2 separate regions of the Homo sapiens genome follow, and region 2 is linked to region 1. Evidence: promoter capture Hi-C in 16 types of primary human blood cells and fetal thymus (Javierre and others, 2016). All regions are on one chromosome and are shown on one strand. The core of a region is centred on a gene start or on the middle of the fragment in contact, and the rest is flanking DNA. Distances in the headings are between cores, read along the strand shown.

Region 1 (5,097 bases), core at 811-3,310:
GCACCAAGTTAACCAATTATAAATCTATATAGAGAGAAGCAGATCAGAGGCCAGGCACAGTGGCTCATGCCTATAATCCCAGCATTTTGGGAGGCTGAGGAGTGGATCACCTGAGGTCAAGAGTTTGAGACCAGCCTGACCAACATGGTGAAACCTTGTCTCTACTAAAAATACAAAAATTATCCAGGCATGCTGGCAGGCGCCTGTAATTCCCAGCTACACGAGAGGCTGAGGCAGGAGAATCGCTTGAACCTGGGAGGCGGAGGTTGCAGTAAGCCGAGATCGTGCCATTGCACTCCAGCCTGGGCGACAAGAGCGAAACTCTGTCTCAAAAAAAAAAGAGAGAGAGAGAGAGAAGCAGATTAGCAGTTACCAGGGGCTGAGGGAGTGTGACTGCTAATGGGTACAGGGTTTCCTTCTGGAGTGATAAAAATGTTCTGGAACCCCATAGAGGTGATGGTTGCACAACACTGTGAAGGTACTAAATGCCCCCGAATTGTTTACTTAAACGTGGTTAATGTTATGTGAATTTCAGCTAAACAATGTTATGTAGATATTTGGCCGGGCGCGGTGGCTCACGCCTGTAATCCCAGCATTTTGGGAGGCCGAGGCAGGTGGATCACGAGGTCAGGAGATCGAGACCATCCTGGCTAATGCGGTGAAACCCCATCTCTACTAAAAATACAAAAAAAAAAATTAACCGGGCGTGGTGGTGGGTGCCTGTAGTCCCAGCTACTTGGGAGGCTGAGGCAGGAGAATGGCATGAACCTGGGAGGCAGAGCTTGCAGTGAGCCAAGATCGCGCCATTGCACTCCAGCCTAGGCAACAGAGCAAGACTCCGTCTCAAAAAATATATATAAATAAATAGATATGTGATGTGACAGGTTTTTTTTTGAGATGGAGTTTTGCTCTTGTTCCCTAGGCTGGAGTGCAATGGCGTGATCTCAGCTCACCGCAACCTCCGCCTCCAGGGTTCAAGCCATTCTCCTGCCTCGGCCTCCGGAGTAGCTGGGATTACAGGCATAAGCCACCATGCCTGGCTAATTTTGTGTTTTTAGTAGAGACAGGGTTATTCCATGTTGGTCAGGCTGGTCTCGAACTCTCCACCTCAGGTGATCTGCCAGCCTCAGCCTCCCAAAGTGCTGGGATTACAGGCATGAGCCACCGTGCCTGGCCTCTGATATGACAGTTCTAATGCCCTTTAGTATTCTATAATTCAGACTCAGGCCTTTGGAATCCAAAGCCCAGGTTTTTCTCACAAACCCACACTGCAGAGCGGAGTGGTGGAAAAAAATAAAACCTCTGCCTTGGAATCAGACAGATCTAAACTGGAGCCCTATTTTGTCATTTGCCAACTGTGTGACCTTGGGCAAGTTACCGCAACTCTCTGAACCTGTCTCTTTATCTGCAAGGTGCACGACTGATGGGACTATTCAACCAGACCCAGTGCACAGATTCAGGCACTTGATAAGACATTGAGGCTGCAGGCAGCGATCTTTTTTCTTTCTTTCTTTTTTTTTTTTTTTTTTTGAAATAGGGTCTCACTCTGCTGCAGAGGCTCAATCACTGTTCATTGCAGCCTTGACCTCCCTGGCTCAAGAGATCCTCCCATCTCAGCCTCCTGAGTTGCTGGGATCACAGGTGCAATCCACCACCACACCTGGTTAACATTTTTTTTTTTAGAGATGAGGTCTCTCTATGTTGCCCAGGCTGCACTTCCTTCTTGTCTCCCTTATCCCAGCGTCCGACTGAACTGACGGCTTTGCTTTCCCCAACCAGCCCGTGAAGCTGGGCTGAGTACAAAGTGGTGGGTATGAGGGTCAAGATTGTAAGATCTGAAAACTCCAGAAACCATCCCTTTGGTTAACAGTTGCTAAGGACAAATGCATAACATATTTTCCAGTGATCCCATGCTGGCAAATCGTCAGGGTCATTCCTGCAACAGACAGATTCAAGGCCAGCCCCAAACTCAGCCAAGAGCAAAGCAAACACTCCAGCCTTATCTGGGCAGGGTTGTGTGGAGACTGACTATAAGACTATACCTGAGACTGGTCATCTCAGTTCTTTTCTCACCTTGACTGCAAGATGAAACTCCTTGTGCTAGCTGTGCTGCTCACAGGTAGGCAAGTCTCCCCGGCTCCACCCGCCTTTCTCTCCCAAGTGAGCTAAGATCTCACTCCTCTGGAATGGGGGCCACAGGCCACAGCAAACAGGGATGGCCAGCCCCGCAGTCTCAATTCGAGGTTCCCAGTGGGGCTTAAGGGCTCCTCTATTGGGGTTCCCTCAAGGCTGGCACTTTTTCAACCTGCAAGTCTGAACTCAGATTGCCTGAGCTAAGAAAGCTTGCCTTTATTTTCTTTTTTCCAGACAGGGTCTTGCTCTATCACCCAGGCTGGAGTTCAGTGGCATGATCATAGCTCACCACAGCTTCCAACTCGTGGGCTCAAGTGATCCTCCCACCTTACTCAACTAAGTAGTTAGGCCAATCTCCCATTTATTTTATTTTATTTTAATTTTTATTTTTATTTTACTTTATTTTATTTTTGAGACGGGGCTCACTCTGTCGCCCAGGCTGGAGTGCGGTGGCGTGATCTCAGATCACTACAACCTCCATCTCCTGGGTTCAAATAATTCTCTTGCCTCAGCCTCTCAAGTAGCTGGGACTTGTAGCTCTCAAGTAGCTGGCACACACCACCATGCCCAGCTAATTTTTTGTGTGTTTTTTTTGGTAGAGACAGGTTTTCACCATGTTGGCCAGGCTGGGTGACCTCCCTTTTAGATTCTCCTCATCCTGCTCTATTCTTCCCCTTTCTAATGCAGTATCCAGTTTCCTTACTTATCACATTTATTATTATTCTTATTATTATTGAGACAGAGTCTTGCTTTGTCGCCAAGGCTGGAGTACAGTGGTGCGATCTCGGCTCACTGCAAGCTCCACCTGCTGGGTTCACGCCATTCTCCCGCCTCAGCCTCCCCAGTAGCTGGGACTAAAGGCGCCTGCCACCACGCCCCGCTAATTTTTTTGTATTTTTAATAAAGACGGGGTTTCATCGTGTTAGCCAGGATGGTCTCGATCTCATGACCTTGTGATCCGCCTGCCTCGGCCTCCCAAAGTGCTGGGATTACAGGCATGAGCCACCGTGCCCGGCCTTATCACATTTATTATTTATTGTTTTTCTCTCCCACTAGGTTGTAAGCTCCATGAGGTTAGAGATTATTATTATTATTATTATTATTATTATTATTATTATTATTATTATATCTGTTCACTGCTGTATCTCTAGCTCCTAGGACAGAGCCTGGCACATAGTAAGTGCTCAATAAATATTCACTGGATAAACAGTGCAGATAGTTTAAAACTATCTGACCTAGGGAGGCTGAGGCAGGAGAATGGCGTGAACCCGGGAAGCAGAGTTTGCAGTGAGCTGAAATCGTGTCACTGCACTCCAACCTGGGCAACAGAGCAAGACTCCATCTCAAAAAAAAAAAAAAAACTATCAGGCCTAGCTGGGTGGCACATGCCTGTAATCCTAGCTGAGGCGGTAGGGTCCCAGAAGAAGAAGAAGAAGAAAAAGAAGAAGATATATATATATATACACACACACAAAGATATAAACTTTATATATATAAAGTTTTCATTAAAAAAAAAAAAAAACCTCTACCCACTTTCACTTTACCAGGTTCCTGGGTCCAACGGTCTTCAGAGGAGGCAGCTGGCAGGGGTCAGGGAGGCAGCGTGGGACCCGAGGGAGCAGGAAGGCAGTGTGTCCCCGGGGTGCTGGCAGACCGATTTGAACTCTGGCTATGTCTTCTTGCAGTGGCCGCCGCCGACAGCGGCATCAGCCCTCGGGCCGTGTGGCAGTTCCGCAAAATGATCAAGTGCGTGATCCCGGGGAGTGACCCCTTCTTGGAATACAACAACTACGGCTGCTACTGTGGCTTGGGGGGCTCAGGCACCCCCGTGGATGAACTGGACAAGTAAGTGATCCGCCTGCAGGAAAATTGGAGTGCCTGCCGGGGGCGGGGTGGGGCACACGCCAAGGATCTCACGAGGCATACAAAGGGGACTTGCATATCTGCTAAGGATAACATATTTTCACCTCTTGTCAAATAAACAAATATGTTCCAAGAGGACCCTGTAGCGAACGCACCCCGTTAGAGATGGAAACAATGACCGACGTGCAAAACAGTGGGCGATGCTGCCCTCCAGTGGCAGAATGTAGCAACAGTAAACATCACAGCAACTATCCACGTGTCATTTTCTAGCAGTGGTTGTCACTGCACCTTCTGAATACAGGATTTTACTGTATTCTTGCAACCATGTTAAAAATCGCTTTCAGGCCAGGCGCGGTGGCTCATGCCTGTAATCCCAGCACTTTGGGAGGCCGAGGCGGGCGGATCACTTGAGGTCAGGAGTTCGAGACCAGCCTGGCCAACATGGTGAAACCCTGTCTCTACTAAAAAATACAAAAATTAGCCGGACATGGTGGCGAGCGCCTGTAACCCCAGCTACTTGGGAGACTGAGTTGGAGGTTTCAGTGAGCCAAGGTCGTGTCACTGCTGTCCAGCCTGGGTAACAGAGCAACTCTGTCTCAAAAAAAAAAAATGCTTTCAATAAATATATGATAAAAGGACTTATATTTTTTCAAGCCATAGGATCATTTCTCCTGAAGCATCTTGGCGAAGTCATCCCCACCTGTTCCTGAGAGTGGGCAGGTGAGGGCTGACCTATTGCTCTGCACTTACTCCTATCTCAGCTGTCCCTCCCACTTTCCAGGTGCTGCCAGACACATGACAACTGCTATGACCAGGCCAAGAAGCTGGACAGCTGTAAATTTCTGCTGGACAACCCGTACACCCACACCTATTCATACTCGTGCTCTGGCTCGGCAATCACCTGTAGCAGTAGGTTTATCCCTTCCTTGACCTATGAATTCTAGTTGGTTCTCAGTAGGCCGGGGGGAAATAATAGTAACAACAGCCATGATTTAGTGTTAATTTTCTTGGTTCTGGGCAGTGTCTCCTTTAATCCTCAGAACAACACTATGGGATAGGTACAATTATCCTCACTTAACAGATAAGAAAACTGAGGCTCAG
Region 2 (5,097 bases), core at 1,058-3,557, 370 kb before region 1:
CAGCCCAGCTCTGCAGCAGACATCTGCGTCATCCTCCCAGAAATTCAACTCAGGCCACACTTCTGGCAAAAGAAGTTTCACCCTGACTGTCCTTGTTTTCAGTCAGCTGGGCTCAGTGGGATCTAAAAACCTGGGACAGAGTGTAGATCCAGTAGAGGAGCCCAGGCCTCTCCTCCACGCACCCCTCACTGGCACCCCTCACCATCTCCCATACATTCCCTATGGTGCAGCCTCTCAGTCCTAGCACTAAGCTCAAAATACAGATAAGAGAACAAACAGTGCAAAAAGCAAAAGGTGAACAACAGAGTAATTCTTGACACATACAATACAAAAATAAAAATAAAGAATCCCACCCCTTTAACCTAAACTTCATGTACCTATATCTTGGAGGAGCCACAAAACAAAAACAAAAACAAAAAAACTTTCAAGTTCAGCATCATGAGCCAGCTGTGACCAGCCCCAGGGAGCTCTTGTTAGCTGGATAGGCTTGGCTCCAGGGGAGTCTACCCCAGCCCCCACCATACTTCTTCCTGTTTCCTCACTTCCCCTTTAGTTTTTGTTAGCCATAGAAAGATGTTCCTTCCTTTCGTTCACAACCAGAGAGGAAAGCGCCCATCCCTAACCCTGAGCTCAGGGGAAAAGGGTGGGCTTGGAAACAGAGGCAGAAGCAAAGCTGCTTGGCTTACAGTACCATTAGGAAATGGCCCCAGGAGTCAGGGTTTCCTTCTGAGACTCTGAGTCACTGAAGGGATGTGTTGAGGTGGAAGGCGGGACCCCCTCCTTCCTCAGACAGACCCAGGCAAACTAACAAACAAGGCAAAATGGAGGCAGCCAGTCCTCCTCCTTCATCTTGACTAACCCAATGGCAGTGGCCCAGGGCTTTGGGGAATTTCGATGGGATAGGAACCAAAGCTACTGCCAGAAGCCTGTTTAGTTAGGATGTCCACTGCCCCAGGCAGGTGGTCCCCAGGACCAAGGCTACAGTACCTTATCCTTTAGAAGCAGGGGAGCTGTGTGAAGCACTATGGGAAGTATACCTCTGACTGCAGCCTCGGGCCACAACCCTCCAGCTGCCTGACTCAATACCCTAGCACTGAGACCCAAGTCACAGCGAAAACAACAGGCTACAATTCTCAAACGACTAAATGCTGGCCTGGAGTAATCATTAAAGAGCCAAAACCCAGGACATGAGCCCAAGAGCTACCTATTTTGTCACATAAGGAGCAGTTCAAATATACAGAGCTCTTAAAAAACATATCTAATAAAGCAAACTCAAAATTAAACACATTCTAGAAAAGCGGGCCTGGCCTGAGATCCTATATTGACTGCTCCAGCCCAAGCTGAAGCTAATCCTGCTGTCTCCCATCCACAAAATTCCTTCTAGCTTGGCTGGGTCCTCCTTCATTGTTGCCCTAACTGGGAAATGGATGACAATGGCCAGAAAGGAGGGGACCAGGGAAGCTTCATTTCCTATAGAAATTTTTTCAGGGAATTCAAGATCGACACTTAGATGCTAAGGTTAGCTTCAGAGCTGCCAAGGCTCTGGCTGACTGGAATTCTTTCAGTCCCATCACACCAAGAACCTGACTGCTACTTGGATAGAGAAATGAAAGGACAGGGGAAGGAGGGGCATACTATTAAGATCAATAAGAAGCATCGCTGGGCCTATATAGCTAATTAGTCTAGTTCCTTGAAGTAGCTCTAGGCATAAACCAAAACTGGCTGAACTGTGACACACAAGAACATGGGAATAAATGAACATCAGATACCAGACACTCTAAACAGTGGTCAGTCACTTAGTAGGGCTCAAATCTCTGAGGTTGCTCTTAAGCTATGCTAACATAAGCCTTTTCTAATCCAAAGACCAGAAGAGACTTTTAAGGTCAAGTGTTCTGTTGCTGCAGGCTGGAAAGCATCCCTGCCCCCTGGCAGCAAGGCCCTACAAAGGGGCCAGTAAAGAACTGCTGGGTCAGGTCCTCCTGGCTGCTGGCTCAGAGATCCAGGGAGGGAGGTACCAACAAGGTGAGGTGGTAAAGGAGAAGACATTCAAGCAGAGAACCCCAAATCCCCGTGTCTCCTTCCCTTCTTGGCTATAACTTAGTGGGATGGTTGAGAGGGAGAAGAAATTTCAAATGAGCCAGATTAAGGAAACAAACAAACAAACAAAACTGAGAAGAAATCAAGTCCCCAACAGGCACTGAAATCAAAATGATTTGTTGTGGTAACAAGTCAGAGGCGATCTGAGGACCCGACATAACCGAAACGTCTTGGATGCTGGACAGTCTATAACTGGCACATGCCAGGGAGACAAGCAATGACAAAGCTCAAACACTAAAGGTGGGACCATCACTGGATTAATCCAGAAAGGCTTCCAGATAAGGAAGCATTTTCTTTCTTTTTTTTTAATCTCCCTACTTTTTTTTTTAAGTCTTTACCGCACAAATTCTACCCCTTCACACACATTCTTTCAATCCCAGGACGTCTGAAGTCTTATCTAGACATAACTTCAGACCGTACCTAACTCCCAGTGCTGGTCGTCTCAGGTAATAAGATGGCATTTCCCTGCTGTTAATTTCTAACCTAAAAAAAGGAACAGTGACTCCTCTGAGTTCAGAGTCCTTTCCACTAGGTATACAAATGAGGATCCTTGAGCAGGAAGGATCCAGTTTACCCTAAGTATCCTCAAGAGGAAAGAGAAGGCTGGGAGCCAGCCACAAAGAGAGGACGAGGACTGAAGCACGTCTGGGACCAGGTGGTGAATGAGGGCTGCTCTCTACTCGCTCTGCCTCTTTTTGTCTCCTTTAATTGATGTGTGTTTTTTTCTCTTTGTTTTTGTTCATTAATCATTGTGAAAAATACAGAAACCAAAACCAATATGGCTGGTTTCTTTCCCACACCCCTCCACCCTGTTCAGGATAGTCATTTGTTCTCACAACCGGCAGAGGCAGAAGAGGGTTGGAATGAAGACTCCGAAGGCCACCAGGATGGGAAACATGAGGCTGCTGTTGTCCGAGGCATAGGGGTTGGGTGTGCGGGGGCCTGACTGCACCCGGTTCTTATTGGTCTGTTTTTTGAGATTAGACCCTTCATCATATTCTTCTTCTTCTTCTTCCTCTTCTTTCTTCTCCAATCCCGGATGAGGCTGAAGCTTTGGTACATCTAACACAAGGAAGAAAACACTGTTAAGACCCACAGCATTTAAGTAAGAGAGACCCTTAAAAGCAGCAAATAAGCCACAATAAAGAGATTGCTGTGATTGAACCCGGGTCCAGAGAAAAGACCAGAAGTAGCAGAAATAGCCTCTGGTCTACAGAACAGCAGAGTGCTGCAAAAGCTTTAGATTTAACTAGAAAGTAGAAAAAGCCGTGCTCATAGGGAGGTTCACTATCTTACCTTCCTGTTCTACTTTTACAGAGCCCCAAGATAACCAGACTGGACAGGGACAATGATCCAATGCCTAAACTTTAGCCTTTTCAAATCCCTCCTCCTCCCACAAGCCCACATTCCCTTTTGATTCACACAACAACTGAAGAAACGTTGACCCAGAGAGTTCTGGGTTCCCAGCACACACTATCCCTCTGTCCTGCCTCCTCCTCAGGGACTTGAACACAGGTCTGTTTGGTGGTAAGACATTCATCCTCCTAGATGTCATAATATCAGCATTTGGGGGACATCAAGACAACAGGATGAAATCCTCAGTGCATTCAAGATTGAGTTGGGGAAAGGTACAGAGGTGGAATGGGGGAGAAATGTCACAAAGACGCAGCTTTCTCTGCAAAAATCAGCCTGAGATGCTGGCAGCCAGGAGAATCTAAACCCTGAGAAAGAAATATACTCTAAGACTTGATCCCAAGGATAAGGAGACATAAATAAGTGAAGTTTTGTCCCAGTGCAGTCCAGCAATGCTGGAATCTTTCAGAGCATACCAAAAGCCTACAGGACTCCTCCTTTTACCTTTTTTTCCCCTAGGAAAGAGATGTCAAACAAACAGAATAAGGACAAGTTTTAGGTGATCCCAAATGACTACAAAGGTCAGGGTACACCAATAGGTACCATTATTAATCCCAATTTATAGGGAAATTAAAAGCATCCATCCAAGACAAACATCTGATTAAATGGCAGCAACAAGATATACATAGACCTGACTCCAAAGCTTGTGGCTAGTACCATGTTATGCTTCATCCTTATCCAACTGATTCTGAATCCCCTACAATTTAGCTTTAAGTGTTTCCAAAATAGTCATCAGCTCAATTACCTCCCAAGGGCTTCCTCAACCATATCCCTCCACTCAAGTCAAAAAAGCAGGTCAGAACACAACCTACCATCCACTGTCCCAGCCATGATGTAGAGTGCACAGACCTTGGGATTGTCATAGTACCCCTAGGAAAAGGGAAACAGTGGTCAACCCCACACAGCAGCAAACAACTTCCCCTGTACCCACTCTCTTCAGCAATGGGCAGAATAGGGGAATTACCTTGACAAACTCAATGTAGAGTTTCCCTGTGAAGGTGGACACCTCCCCCTGGACACTCAGCTTCCCCTTTCTGATGCTCATAGGTATAATTTCATCGTGAGCTGTGCTATGCCCAACACGATCAAAGATATCCAAGTCCTTCACCACGACGTGGCCATTCAATCGTACATCAAATACCTTCCAGGATAAGAAAAGAAAACAATGTCAAAACCATCAGCTTTACATCCTTTCAAGCAGTTGGACATCATGCACGTGTTTGGGCTTGAAGTTCAAAAATAATTTAAGAAATGATGGGTCTGGATATCCAGGGTGGTTAGCATCCTTAACCCGGGTCAAATCAAAGCCGTGTTCCTTCACTGCCCAGGAGTTCTTATATTGGCTTTAAGGAACAAAGAATACAAACAAAAAGCTTAGCATAGGAAGAAGGAAATTCACAGGAAGGGACAGAGGAAAAATAAGGCTAAAAACAAGAAGGTGCGGCAAACCATGGAGGGAAGTAGCCAGGAGGGCCTTAACAGGATCAGTTAGTTGGCAAAACAAGGATTCTGGCATTGCTTTCTGTCACTCACCCCCAAGGCAAGTGCAGCCTTGTGCACTATGGAACATGCTTCTCTAGAGCTCAT

The links. The method cuts DNA at HindIII sites, captures the fragments that hold promoters and counts their contacts. A CHiCAGO score of 5 or more calls a contact.
Region 2: a fragment that was not itself captured here is called in contact with the fragment with the promoter of PLA2G1B in region 1 in 3 of 17 cell types (total CD8 T cells, naive CD4 T cells and activated CD4 T cells); the score reaches 5.8 in total CD8 T cells.

Annotation. Positions count from the first base shown.
Region 1 is chr12:120,324,742-120,329,838 of GRCh38, reverse strand. PLA2G1B (phospholipase A2 group IB) reads left to right here and starts at 2,060. Exons shown (of 4, transcript NM_000928.3): 1 at 2,060-2,119; 2 at 3,819-3,978; 3 at 4,778-4,905. The coding sequence starts at 2,086. RefSeq lists an enhancer at 4,104-4,163. The HindIII fragment of the contact is 6,320 bases long and covers 1-2,344 here.
Region 2 is chr12:120,694,378-120,699,474 of GRCh38, reverse strand. MLEC (malectin) reads right to left here. Exons shown (of 5, transcript NM_014730.4): 3 at 4,475-4,651; 4 at 4,323-4,380; 5 at 1-3,159. The coding sequence ends at 2,930. Among named protein-coding and RNA genes, the nearest start is that of MLEC, 9.8 kb to the right of the region's middle. The HindIII fragment of the contact is 1,687 bases long and covers 1,464-3,150 here.